Regions from separate parts of the Homo sapiens genome. Here region 1 is linked to region 2. The links are contacts of gene promoters, found by promoter capture Hi-C in blood cells and fetal thymus (Javierre and others, 2016). All regions are on one chromosome and are shown on one strand. Each heading gives the region's core, a stretch centred on a gene start or on the middle of the fragment in contact. The rest is flanking DNA. Distances are from core to core; before and after follow the strand shown. Region 1 has its middle 110 kb from the start of TACC1. Region 2 holds the start of LINC03042 (long intergenic non-protein coding RNA 3042).

Region 1 (6,786 bases), core at 470-2,969, 140 kb after region 2:
GGCCAAGGCAGGAGGATTGCTTGAGGTCAGGAGTTGGAGACCAGCCTGGACAACATAGCAAGACCCTATCTCTACAAAAAAATTTTAAAAATAAAGCTTATCAGGGCATGATGGCACATGCCTATTATCCCAGTTACTCAGGAGGCTGAAGTGGGAGGATCGCTTGAGCCCAGAGTTTGAGGCCGCGGTGAACTATGATTGCACCACTGAAAAAAAACGGACACGTATATCATTACCAGTTACAAAGGAAATGTAGAAACTGTAGGGGTCCAAAATCCCAGCCTGGAGATTCTTTCCAGAGGTTCTACATGTTGGAGCGTCTGTGGGTAAATACGTGACAAGACTCTCTGCCCCAGGGCTGGGTAGGATTCCTGGAAATGAGGTACACCGCAGGACTGCTGAAGCAGTGGGGTCAGCTGGGACCTTGTGCTCTCAGCCAGCAGAACTTGAGAAGGATTGGAGGGAAATACTGCGCAGCCCATCCTGGCTGAATACTTTCCTCTCCTGGAGGCTTTCGGAGCTAGGCTCCCGTTAGCAGGAGAGTATGAACCACCAACAAGGGGCTGTGAGGTTTGCCACCGTATAATGAGTTTGGGTGGAGCACTTTGGCCACCTGAGGAAGCAGGGTTTGGAAACTGGTGTTCTGTTTGCCAGCCCTCCTCAAATACAGCCATTGTGCTGGAGAACCAAATGAAAGCCCTGGTAGTGCTAGCTTCAAGGACCACACTGCTTCTTTGACAGAGCCAAGCCCTGCACCCCTGTGGCTTGGATGAGTTCCCTTTGACCACCAAGGAAGAGGAGGAAGAGGAGTGCGCAGTCCTCGTGCAGCAGGTTCCTAGCATCTGACAAAAGTCTTGGATCTGGGGTGGAGAACTAGACAGACACTGGAAACAGAATCTTTTTCTTTTTTTAAAAAAGAGCATCTTGTACCAAGTTGTTCCAAGTTCACAAAAATCTCCCAAGCTCCCAACATGGAGTGACTGTTAGAGGAGTTTGTTGTACATGATTCAGAGACACATGGATTAAATTTCTCTTAAAATATACATCAATTTGAAAATTAAAGGGGAAAGCGTCTGAGACGAGACATGTTTGGATTTCTGTCAAACTCAGGGCCTTTGGAAAGCAGCTCAGAAGCCAGGATGTGGCTTCTCAGGGCTCTGCCTGTCCTCTGCCTCTTTCCTTTGTGTGTTCCATGCTCAGGTCATCCTCCAGCTCTGCAGGGCTGCACTGGCTTTGGCTGTGTCAAATCCTGGAGCTAAGAACCAATTTTATGTTAATTTCTTGGCTTGGGGTTCCCTTCTGATGCAGTTAGTAGATATTTGGACTCTAAACTTGGGCCAAGCACATGGCTGGGGTTTTGATTTTTCACAGGGGTCTGTTCTTCCCCCCAGCTGGAGCCAGGGTAGAGATGAGCTTCCTTAATATCTTTCTGGATTGATGGTTGGCTTTTCTCAGAGCATCTGGGTTTTATGTAGGGGACTCAGTTCCAACCAGTCACTTTATCCAGGCATGAGGCCTCATCTCCTGTCCCTGCATGGGTGTTAAAAGCCAAGCCTTTGGCCATAACTGGACCTGATTGTCTCCCCACGACCACTGTTTTCAGCTCTCAGCTTCCTCTTCACTTCAGCATCTGGGGACTTCCTTTTCTACCTTACAAGCTCATCCATGCGTTATTTGTTAACTTATTTAATTTTATTTTCAAAAATTGTGTTAAGATACACATAACATAAAATGTACCATCTTGGCCAGGCATCATAGCTCACGCCTGTAATCCCAGTACTTTGGGAGGTCGAGGAGGGCAGAATGCTTAAGCCCAGGATTTTGAGACCAGCCTGGCAACATAGTGAGACCCCATCTCTACAAAAAAATTAAAAATTAGCTGGGCTTGGTGGCATACGTCTGTAGTCCCAGCTACTTGTGGGGCTGAGGTGGGAGGATCACTTGAATCTGGGAGGTCAAGACTGCAGTGAGCTGTGATCACACCACTGCACTTTAGCCTGGGTGACAGAGTGAGCCCCTGTCTCAAAAAAAAAAGTACCATCTTAGCCATTTTAAAATGTACAGTTCAGTGGCATTAGGTGCATTCGTGCGGTTGTGCAGCCATCACCACCATCGAGCCACAGAACTCTTCTCATCCGGCAAAACTGAAACTCTGTACCATTAAATGATAACTCCCTATTTCCCCTCCCCTAGCCCCTGGCTTTCAGTCTCTGTGGATTTGAGTGCTCTTGATACCCAGTCTCATTCAGTATTTGCCCTTTTGTGATTGGCTTATTTCACTCAGCAAAATGTCTTCTCCATGTTACAGCACATGTTAGAATTTCCTTCCTTTTTAAGACTGAATAATGGTTCATTTCATATACATAAATACCACATTTTGTACATTCATTCTTCTGTTGATGAACACTTGGGTTCATTAACTTTTTGGCTATTTCAAATAATGCTGTTCTACAACATGGTATACAAATATCTCTTTGAATCCCTGCTTTCAATCCTTTTGGGTATATACCCAGAAGTAGAATTGCTGGATCATATAGTAATTCTATTTTTAATTTTTTGAAGAACTGCCATGCTGTTTTCCATAGCAGCTGCACTATTTTACATTCCTACCAAATGTGTACAAGGGTTCCAATTTTCAATTTCTCCACATCCTCACCAACACTTATTTTCTGTGGGTTTTTTGTTTTTTTGGGTTTTTTTGGATAGCAATCATTCTAATGGATATGAAGTGGTATCTCACTGTGGTTTTAGTTTGCATTTCTCTAATGACTAGTCTAGTATCTTTTCATGTGCTTATTGGCCATTTGTATATATTCTTTGGAGAAAATGTCTATTCAAGTCCTTTGCCCATTTTTAAATTAGGTTGTTTGTGTTTTGTTGTTGTTGTCCATGCATTTTAAGAGTTTTCTTTTATCTATAAATCATTTCTATGGGTTTATAGTGAGTATTTCCATGCCACCCTTTGGCCATTTTGCTGGCTTTCAGAGTGTCTGCCTTTCTGATGGCTTTCACTGTACCCTCTCCAATATCCCGTTTCGTAGCCAAGAAACTTCTCTGCATCCTTAGCCTTTTCTGGAATGTGTCCTATCTGCTTCCTTGTCATAACAAACTTGGTTTTTCCCTGATGAGACCACTGTCCCTGAAACCCTTTCAGGTGAAGGACCCAACACTCCCCTCCCACCCTTTCAAAGCACACACAGGGGGTCTCAAGTTCAGTCGAAGAGCTTAGCATTTATTAAGATATTAGTCTCCTCCCTACTCCAACTTCTGCCATCCCCTTCCATGCCCAGGCTGTGATCCTATTCATCATCTGAGCCTCAGAGTCACCTGATGGTGTGAACAGAAGCTTCACTCTGGAGATAGATGGATGGGACTTCAAAATTCCATTTCCATGATCACTGTGGTTCCTAATCACTCTGCACTTTAATCTCCTTGCCTACAAAAAAAAAAAAAAGGATAAGAAAACTTATCTTAAGAGGTGGTTATAAAATTTAAATGAGATAATGCATTTTGGATGCCCAGCCAGTTGTTAGCACAGGATAAGTGCTTATGATGTTTATTTCCATTTCACTTCACTTCCACTCCACTTTCAACAAGCAGAAAGCTACAAGTGGTACTTTATTCTCACTCAGAGCGACTCTCCTGTGTGATGTGGAACCCTGGAGCTCTCCTTTGTGGCCCTATCTTCCTAACTGCTGTATTGGTTTCCTGTGGTTGACGTAACAATTTTCCACTGGCTTGGTGGCTTAAAATGACAGAAACGTATGCTCTCATAGTCCTGGAGACAAGAAATCTAGAATCAGCATCACTGAGCTGAGATCATGGTGTTGAGAGGGCTTGCGCCTCACTCCCTCTGGAGGCGGCAGGGGAGGATCTTGTGTCTTCCAACTTCCAGTGGCTGCTGGCCTTGCTTGGCTGGAGGCTGCAGCACTCCAATCTCCACCTCTGTGGTTACTTTGCCTTTTCTTCTTCTGGTGTCAAATCTTTCTCTACAAGGACACCTATGATTGCATTTAGGACCCAAATGGGTAATCCAAAATAATCTCCTCATTTCAAGATCTTTCACCACATCTGCAAAGTCCTTCTTTAGCTAAATAAGATGACATTAATAGGGCCCAGGGACGAGGATGTGGATGTGTTTTGGGGGGCCATTGTTCAGCCTACCACACCGTTCTTCTTCCCACTCCCTGCCTGCTAAATCTGCTTCTCAACTGCGTGACGTTGTTCAGTCCCCCCTTACTTCCTGTATTTAGAGTTATCATTGGTCCCCTACCTTCATTCCCCTCCTCCCCACACACCCCTCCCTCACGACGACACCCCCTTGCTTGTCATCTCCACCACACTCCCCAGAACCTTCCATGCCCTCATTCCTTTGGCCTTCAGCCATGTTAGTCCTTCTAATCCACCCAAGAACACAGACACTTTTAGGTGGGAACTCTCCCAATTCCTTTCCCTTTCCTCTAAAGTAATAAACATATTTCCTCCCCCCTGCTCTTTTGTCTCCCTCCTTCTCTTTATCCATATCTTTCTCTACTTTTGGGTATAGGTTGTGTTGAATGGGATGGGGGCTGGGGGCTGGAATGAGTGGAAGAGAAGGAGGGGTCTGAACACAGACCTGATGGGAAGGGGGGCTCTGGGACATCTGGGAATGTGAAGGTTTCTCTTGGTTCAGCCAACATGGCCATCAGCCCAGCCAGAGTCAGAGCCAACCTAAGAAGACGTGATGGTCAGGCTCTTGCTGCTGGAAGTGAGGATGGGGCACTGTCACCCACTAACCAGGTGGCAGGTCACACGAGGCAGATGGTGCTGTGGATGTGAGGCTTCCTGCATAGTGAGAAGAGATAGCATCTCTGGGTTGTATACTATCTTTGTCTATGTATTATGTTGGTAAAGTCTCCCCCGTGTCCCTTGGAGGTGGTGCTCTAGTCACCTTATCCAGGTGTGTGTGAGTCCCAGAGGTGGTTTCATATCTAAACAGCAAAGCCACACATAGCCCTCCTCCCTGGGTGGTTTCCAAAGTCCTCGAGGAGATAAGATATTTCACTCTTAACAACACGGTGCTCTACACAACGGACATGCTGAGGTCAGAAGGAGATCTTAGGAATTTAAAAAACACATTAGAGATGAAAATCTTAATAGAAAAGAATGATGAGAGAGATGAAGAAATCCCCAGAAAGTAGAACAAAAAGAGAAAGAATTGGAAAATAGGAGAGAAAAAGATAAGAAAATTAGAGGACAAATCCTGGGGATTTGATATCCAAACAATAGGTCCAAAAAGAGGGAACAGAGTCTATGGAAGGAGGGAAATCATTAATAAAAGAACTCAACTTCTCAGACTCTAGGGCTTGTGATTCCTGATTGAAAGGGCTTCCTGAGTGTTTGGCCCGGTGGATGAAAACAGGGTTACACCAAGTACATCATCATGAATTTTCAGGATGTTGGGATCAAGGAAAAGCTCCAACAAGCTTTCAAAGAGAGAGAGAGAGAGAAAAGTTACATGCAAATTATCAAGTATCAAAAAGGTATTGGATTTCTCAACAGCAACCCAGAAAGTCAGAATGCAGTGAAGTAATGCCTTCAAAATGCTGAGAGAAAATTATTTCCTGTCTAAAATTCTATATCCAGCCAAACTGCCAGAGAGAATAATGTGTTTTCAGATAGTCAAGGCGTCAAACACTTTACTCTAACATATGCTGTCCTCAGAAGCTCCTGGAGGACAGACTCCACAAAAACAAGGAAGAAAACCAAAACAGAAGATAGGAAGGACAGGGGATCCCACACAAGAAACAGTGGAATTCCCCAGACTTGTGGTGAGGGGGTGTCATCCTGCTGTGGCCTGAGGAGGTGGCTGCTGGAAGTCATAGGGCAGTGAGAATCATTCCCTCAAGAGATTTCAACCTAGTGGGAGGAGGACAATTTGAGGAGCTCTTGGGGTTGAATTAGTGGCAAGTATACAGAAAACTAAGAAAACAAAGAAGAGGACAGTCCTAATATGAATGTTGATGTAACCAAATTATAACTGTGTTGAGCTGACATGGGGGCTGGGAAGTGGGAGTTTGGGGGCTGGGGTGAGGATGCCAGAAGAGAGTGAATTATTATTTTCCATTGAGGGAAGTCAATAGGTAATTAAAGCCAAAAAAATGAAGAAGTAGCAATATAAGCACCTAATTAGAAATATGAGGGTAAAGATTAAATACCCTATAAATCAACCCAGAGAGTTGAAGTTATTGTTTCTGGGAAGTGAGAAATAAAGAATAAGTCTTCGCTGTTTGGTTTGGCCTGTTGTTTTGTTCTTCTCTTTTCAGAGAGCGTCTCACTCTGTTGCCCAGGTGAGATTATAACTCACTGCAGTCTCGAACTCCTGGGCTCAAATGATCTTCCTGCCTCAGCCTCTGCAGTCGCTGGGACTAAAGGTGCACACACCACACCCAGCCAATTTTTAAAAAATGTTTTGTAGAGATGGGGTTCTACTATGTTTCCCAGGCTGATCTCAAACTCCTGGCCTCAAGCAATCCTCCTGCCTCAGCCTCCCAAAGTGCTAGGATTACAGGCGTGAGTCACCCACCCAGCCATGGTCTGGTTTTGAATGTGCTTTGTAGAACTGCCCATCCCCTCAAATCTAAGTCAATGGCTCACATCACCACTGCATATGAGAGTCACCCAGGGAACTTCAGAAACACCAGTACCCGGGCCATCCATCCAACAGACTCTTACTTAGTTGTTCTGCAGGGAAGTCTAAGCTTCAGGATTTTAAAACATTCCCCCAGATGAGTCTCAATTTTAGCC
Region 2 (6,494 bases), core at 1,291-3,790:
GCAGGGATTATAGGAGTGAGCCACTGTGCCCGGCCTCTTTTCCTTTTTTTAAACCTAATAATCCTGTGCCTCTCTTTGGGTCAATGTAGGTAGATCTAACTCCTTCTTTATAGTTGCTTATCTGCCAGTGTATGGTTGTACCATGATTGATTTATTTAACTGATGTCCTATCAATGGATTTTTCAGGTCCTTTATAGCTTTCTGCAATTACACATAATGCTGACATAACCACCCTTGCAAATATATTTTTTTATATTCAAGGAAACATTTGGTGATTCTACTCTTTTGGCCCATGTGTCATATATGAAGGACACTTACTATATCAACCCTTAATCTGTCTGTCAGTCTGCCACACGAGAAAGCATCCTTTTTTTTTTTTTTTGAGGCAGAGTCTCAAAAAATCAGGCTAGAGTGCAGTGGCGCGATCTCAGCTCACTGCAACTTCCGCCTCCCAGGTTCAAGCGATTCTCCTGCCTCAGCCTCCTGAGTAGCTTGGATTACAGGTGTGCGCGCCACCACACCTGACTAATTTTTGTATTTTTAGTGCAGACGGGGTTTCACCATGTTGGTCAGGCTGGTCTCGAACTCCTGATCTCAGGTGATCCACCCCCCCCTCAGCCTCCCAAAGTGCTGGGATTACAGGTGTGAGCCACCGCGCTCGGCTGAGAAGGCATCCTTTTACCTCCCTTTCCAGGGCATGTTTTTAGCAGAGCCCTGTTGGGAAAAGCACCAGTTTATGAATGTAGAACCTGGGCCCAAATGTAAGACCACTCCACTCCAGATCTAGTCTGGAGCAGTGATTTCTCTGCCCCTCCCATTCTCCTTGCCTCATGTGCCCTGAGCACCTCAGCCGCCTCCATGGTCAGTGACAAGCTGTAATTGGAGTGAAAGGGCTTTGAAGTTCTGATAAATGAGATAATAAATCTCTGCTCTCCAGGGATGTAGGGCAGTGTCTGTGCCTATTGAATGGCCTCAACAGTGCTGTGTATATAGTAACTACTTAATTATTATGAAATAATTATTATGAAATAAGTGGTTGAAGTGATCCCTTTGAAGTTCAGGTCAACTCTGAGCCATCTGAGAAGAATGAATGGAATGGGTAATTGAAACAGATAATCCCCAAACCTCAACTTACTAGTTAATAGGGTTAGGCTCTTTACCTATTAAACCCTTTGAGATACTCAATTTGAAAACTGCTAAAATAAATCCCCTACTTTCATTTATTTTTTCATTGTTGTGGGGCAGGAGAAATTGAGCTGTGAAATGGCCACCAGGAAGGTGGCAGGATGACGAGTCAGGAGTCCTGTGTGAGACATCCGCAAACATCTCATAAGCAGCTTCTGAATCACACAGCATCAAGGCTGCCAAAGTGCCTGGCCAATCTTGGACCTAGAGACCTAAGAATGGGTCTCCCTGTGGACTCCTCCTGACCTGGGTGGGGCAAGGCTCTTGGAAAATAGGTCAAATGACTCTCAGTCTAGAACCGTCTGGCCAGAGATGCCCCAACTTTGCCTTTTGGGCTATTCATCAAATCCAGCCTTTAGGACGTGACATCAGGGTTTCATTTCATGGGAAGATCTGGGTGCATTTTAGTTAAAAGAAGTGATGTCATCACATCCCTGCTGAAAAAAGGAAAAAGGACCCACTTTGTGCTGACATACCGAGTCCTGGGCAGGGAAGTCTGGACAGACACCTGGGTCCACACCTGGCTTTTCTACCAGCTAGCTCTGTGACTCTGGGACCATTGTGTCAGCTTTCTCTGCCACAGTTCCTCCCTCTGCAAAACGAAGGGCTTGAAATGCAGGATTCTAAGATTGTGGCCATCTCTGACTCTGATAACAACCCCGTGAGCCTGAAGAATTCAGCACTGCTGCTCCATAGGGGGTTTCAGCAGGAAGCGGGCACAGATGGCTTTCTCTGGAACGTGTTCAGAAATGTGGTGTGTGATGTACGGTGTGAATGAAGCGTGGTGCCCTTTAAACACAGCTTCCCCCTGGGAGTGCTCTGAGCTCCTCGGGTTCTCTGGCTCTCATTCACATTCCACTGTCACTCTGGGCACTGGCAGCCCTCACGTGCTTGTGCACTGAGCACACACACACCCCGCCCTGACTGACACACAATTGGTGACTCACAACTGACACAATCATTACACACATGGAATGACTCAGCGGGGACACTCACATGCATGGGCTCACGCTCACCGTGACGTGTAGAAGTGGCTGTGCTCGTGGCATCAGGCACCCCCACAGCAGCCTTGGTGGAGGCTCTCGCCAGCGGCGTCTGCAAATGATTTGCATTCTTGGCTCTTTGGAACTGCCTGTTCTTTGTCTCTCTGTTCGCTGCTCAACCCTTTCCTTCCCTTCTGTCCCAAACTTGGCTGGTTTTAGTCTCTTGCTCCCAAGCTCCTCAGCCAGCTTCCCGGACTGGCTCAGGCAGTCTCTAAGGCTCCTGCCAACTCCAAGATTGCTTCTAATCAACTCCTCAGCTGGGAGGAGTCCCTTCCCCAGGGGTCTCATTCCCTCCCTGACCTGAGCATCTCTTCCTGTCTTCTTCAGGAAGATCTTCAATATCTGTGCCATTTGAGCCAGCCCCTTTCGCTAGATAAGGAGCACCCAGAGCTAGTCACATGATAGAAAGTGCTGGCGGCTTCTGGAGGGTGGTCTTCAGTGTCTCTGAGGGTGCCCTTTCTCTTTCTGGCAGCCCAGGCAGATAGTAGTGTTGGGGTTCTTGAAAATCATCTTTGGGAGTTGAGCAGAACCAGCTGTTACTGGAGAAGCAGAGAAAAAAGATGCTGCACGTCCCAGCCATAATGGTCTGGGAGGGACCTACCCCAGAGCGGGAACCAGGGTGGGGAAGCAGTGCAGAGGAAAGAGAGGCCTGTGTCCATGGCTGCTGGCTGAGTTCTGATGGGAAGATAGGGGAACACGTCCTGGAGCTGCACTTCCTTGCAATTCATCTTCTGCTTTCAGATTTAAGGTTACTTTGCCTAGAATAGCTCCTGTCTTTCCTCTTTTCCTGGGGGAGCCCTCACACAGGAGAGGGAGTGTGGCAGAGTGTGATGTGAAGTCAGGGGTATAGGTGTAGCCTCTGCTAGTAGCTGTGGTCCTGGGCTAGACATTAACCACTGGAGTCTCTGCTTCCTTGGCTGTCAGATGTCCTAATACCACCTTTCTGTATCCTCTGATGTGGTGGCATAGATCAGGTGAGCTAGTAGATGTGACAGTGCTTTGACAAATTAAAAGTGGCACACAAATAAAAGTGAGAATTTGAACAGCAGCGAGGAGATGGTGGAGGGGCTGCCCACAGAATGTCCTGAGGGTCTTTGAGGGAGACCTGTAGATTCCCCTCCTGAATATGGGGTAAAGTCCTTGCTGGAATCCCAAGGCTGGATCAGGACCTCCTTTGACTCCGGCACCAGAGGCCCAGACAAGGACTTGCTAGGCCCCTGCTCTGGACCCAGCTGTCATTAAGCTGAGTGTTTTCCTGGAGAGAGGAGAAGGGGTCCTTCCATGTGGATTTTCCCTAAGTATAGATGCTGGCCCAGCAATGCCAAGAACTGAGACACCCTGTGCCTAGCTCTTGGCTGGCTGCTTATAGCTTGAAATGCCCTTTTCAACTCTGAAACTTTTAGAGTCTGGCAATCCTTGAGAGCGTTTTTTTCCTCCTGCTTGGGTGAGAGCTTTATCTTTGACCTCATTCTATCCATCTGAAGAACTAGAATCCAGAGGGAATGACCTTGCTTTGGCAGACCCGAGTCTTCGTCTCTCTGCCTCAAGTCCTTGCCCTGTGAATATCCTCAGCTCTCCCTGCAACTTCAAATCTGGAAAAGGCGCCAGGTGCAGTGGCTCACGCCTGTAATCTCAGCACTTTGGGAGGCTGAGGATGGTGGATCACCTGAGGTCAGGAGTTCGAGACCAGCCTGACCAACAGTGAAACCCCTGTCTCTACTAAAAATACAAAAATTAGCCCAGCGTGGTGGCGCGTGCCTGTAATCCCAGCTACTCAGGAAGCTGAGGCAGTAGAATCATTTGAACCCAGGAGGCAGAGGTGCAGTGAGCCAAGATCGCACCATGCACTTCAGCCTGGGCAACAGAGCGAGACTCTGTCTCAAAAAAAAAAAAAAAAAAAAATCTGGAAAAGGCTTCTTCAGCAAACAGACTTATAAAAATTTCCAGTTAGCCCTTTCCTTACAATTGGTCTGCTGTTTTTGGATTTAAGGTTACTTTGCCAATGTGTCTGGCCTTAACTGTCAGTTAAATATTTAACACACATAGCATGTACTATGCATCAGACACGGTTCTAAGCATTTTTCTACAATATTAATTAATTTTTACAAAACCTTTTATGGGGTAGGCATTCTTATCCCCATTTTGCTGCATAGGACTCCAAGGACAGAGGTTAAATAACATGCCTAAAGTGGGGCAGATTAGCCTACAGTGGCGGGCGTGGAATTCAACCCAGGCCACCTGCCTGGGGAAATTAGCCTGTGACCCCAGCTTTCTTCTGCCCACTGGTGGGTGGTGATTCCAACAGCAACATATGCTTCTGATGGTTTTCTGGAGAGCAGCAGGAATTCCTGATCAACTGGCAAGAAGGAGAAATGAAGCAAAGCCAGAGCTGTGCCCGATACCTTTGTTCAGGCTCAGGTCCACTCCAGCACACGTGCCTGTGTTCTCATCCCCCAGGTTGGTCTCTTCCTTGGCTCCTCCAACAGCCACATCTACAAGAGAATAGAGCCACTCTTTCTCTAACTGTCCTCTCCCTTCTTCCCTCTCTGGGGGAGTCCTGTGGAGCCATTGTTCTCCCAACCTCAGCTATTGGGCCTTTCTTGGCAAGGACCTAGTGGCGTCTCTTATTTACCCATTAACAATTAAGCTCCAGGCATTTGACATATAAACACAGAAAACATCAGCATCATTACAGCAAAGATTTCAAAAGCCCTTTGGCAGGGAAGGGCTTGAATATTTACTTAACAAAAGAATTCCTTACTCCGGTTTTAAGAAAGAATTCACAATAGGATTTAACAAGCCAGTTTCTCCAGTAAATTAAAAACATTCTTTTATTCATTCAGAATATGATTTGTGTTTTTAAAAATGTGTCTCACATACAACTTTTCAAGAGAACACTCGCGGCGTTTTCCCTGAGAACTCTGTTCCCACATTATCTTCCAGTGTTTCTCATTTGTTGAGATGGTCCTGCACTAAGCAGAGAGAGATAATAGCTGCGGAGTGGGGGGTGTGCCTTAGGATCTAAGATTCCACCCTTAGCGATTCTTTCTTTTGTTTCAAGAGTGACTTCTACAGAAGGGTTTCTTTTATTATACAAGAAGAGTGTTGCGAAGTATATCTTCCATGACTAGAGGTACTTAAGCCAGTCTATTAGAGTACTGGGCCCTTGGGAAGAGGAAGGAGGAAGGGGAGAAAGAACACAGGTAGGTTTATTGGGGGAAAGAAGGGATATTCACCTGTTCATTTGTTTGTTTGTTAGTAATGACTCATATTCCTACCATTGCCAGACATTTGGAATACAAAGGTAAATAAGAAAATAGTATAGTCAAGGACCAGGTGCAGCAGCTCACACCTGTAATCCCAGCACTTTGGGAGGCTGAGGGGGGTGGATTACCTGAGGTCAGGAGTTTGAGACCAGCCTGACAAACATGGTGAAACCTCATTTCTACTAAAAATACAAAAAAATCAGCTGGGTGTGGCAGGTGCCTGTAATCCCAGCTACTTGGGAGGCTGAGGTAGGAGAATCGCTTAACCCGGGAGACGGAGGTTGTAGTGAGCCGAGATCACACCACTGCACTCCAGCCTGGATGACAGAGTGAGACTCCGTATCAAAAAAAAAAAAAAAAAAAAAAAAAAAAAGGAAAGAAAGAAAGCTACCCACTAAGCAAGGTAAAAACTCAGGATGGGGTGCCCAATTAGACACGGGGACAGTGTTGGGGAAGCCACCACAGAGTGGACAGCAGAGTTTCGGTGCAGTAAGTAGTTCATGCCTGCAATCCCAGCACTGTGGGAGGCTGAGGTGGGAGGATTGTTTGAGGCCATAAGTTCCAGACCATCCTGGGCAACATAGTGAGACTCCTTTCTACAAAAAATTAAAAAACTAGCTGGGTGTGGTGGCAGGCTTCTGTAGTCCCAGCTACTCAGAAGCTGAGGTGGGAGGATTGCTTGAGCCCAGGAGGTCCAGGCTGCAGTGAGCTATGATTGTGCCACTCCACTCCAGCCTGGGTGACAGAGGGAGACCATATCTCAAAAAATAAATAAATAAATAAATAAGAAAGAAAAGAAAAGAAAAAAATTAATTAAGAAAAATTCCTAAAACTTGTATTTGCTATGTGCCCAGCATTATATAATACTAAGCATCTTGCATTTTAACTCATATAATCTTCATAAAAATATAAGGAAAGTGCTGTTGCTATCCTTATTTTACAGAAAAGCAAACAGGCTCAGAGAAGTTAGGTAATTTGCTAAAGCCCACAGATAATGAGC

Evidence for each region. Contacts are between HindIII fragments. The CHiCAGO score rates a contact against its expected background, and 5 or more counts as called.
Region 1: a contact is called between a fragment that was not itself captured here and the fragment with the promoter of LINC03042 in region 2, in 1 of 17 cell types (M0 macrophages). The highest score is 5.7, in M0 macrophages.

The regions. Positions count from the first base shown.
Region 1 is chr8:38,670,739-38,677,524 of GRCh38, forward strand. No RefSeq gene overlaps it. Among named protein-coding and RNA genes, the nearest start is that of TACC1, 110 kb to the right of the region's middle. The HindIII fragment of the contact is 3,250 bases long and covers 95-3,344 here.
Region 2 is chr8:38,526,122-38,532,615 of GRCh38, forward strand. LINC03042 (long intergenic non-protein coding RNA 3042) reads right to left here and starts at 2,541. Exons shown (of 3, transcript NR_167676.1): 1 at 2,202-2,541. RefSeq lists enhancers at 1,284-2,251, 1,508-2,707, 2,090-2,384, 2,146-2,195, 2,252-3,219 and 4 more and a silencer at 5,090-5,384. The HindIII fragment of the contact is 18,415 bases long and covers 1-6,494 here.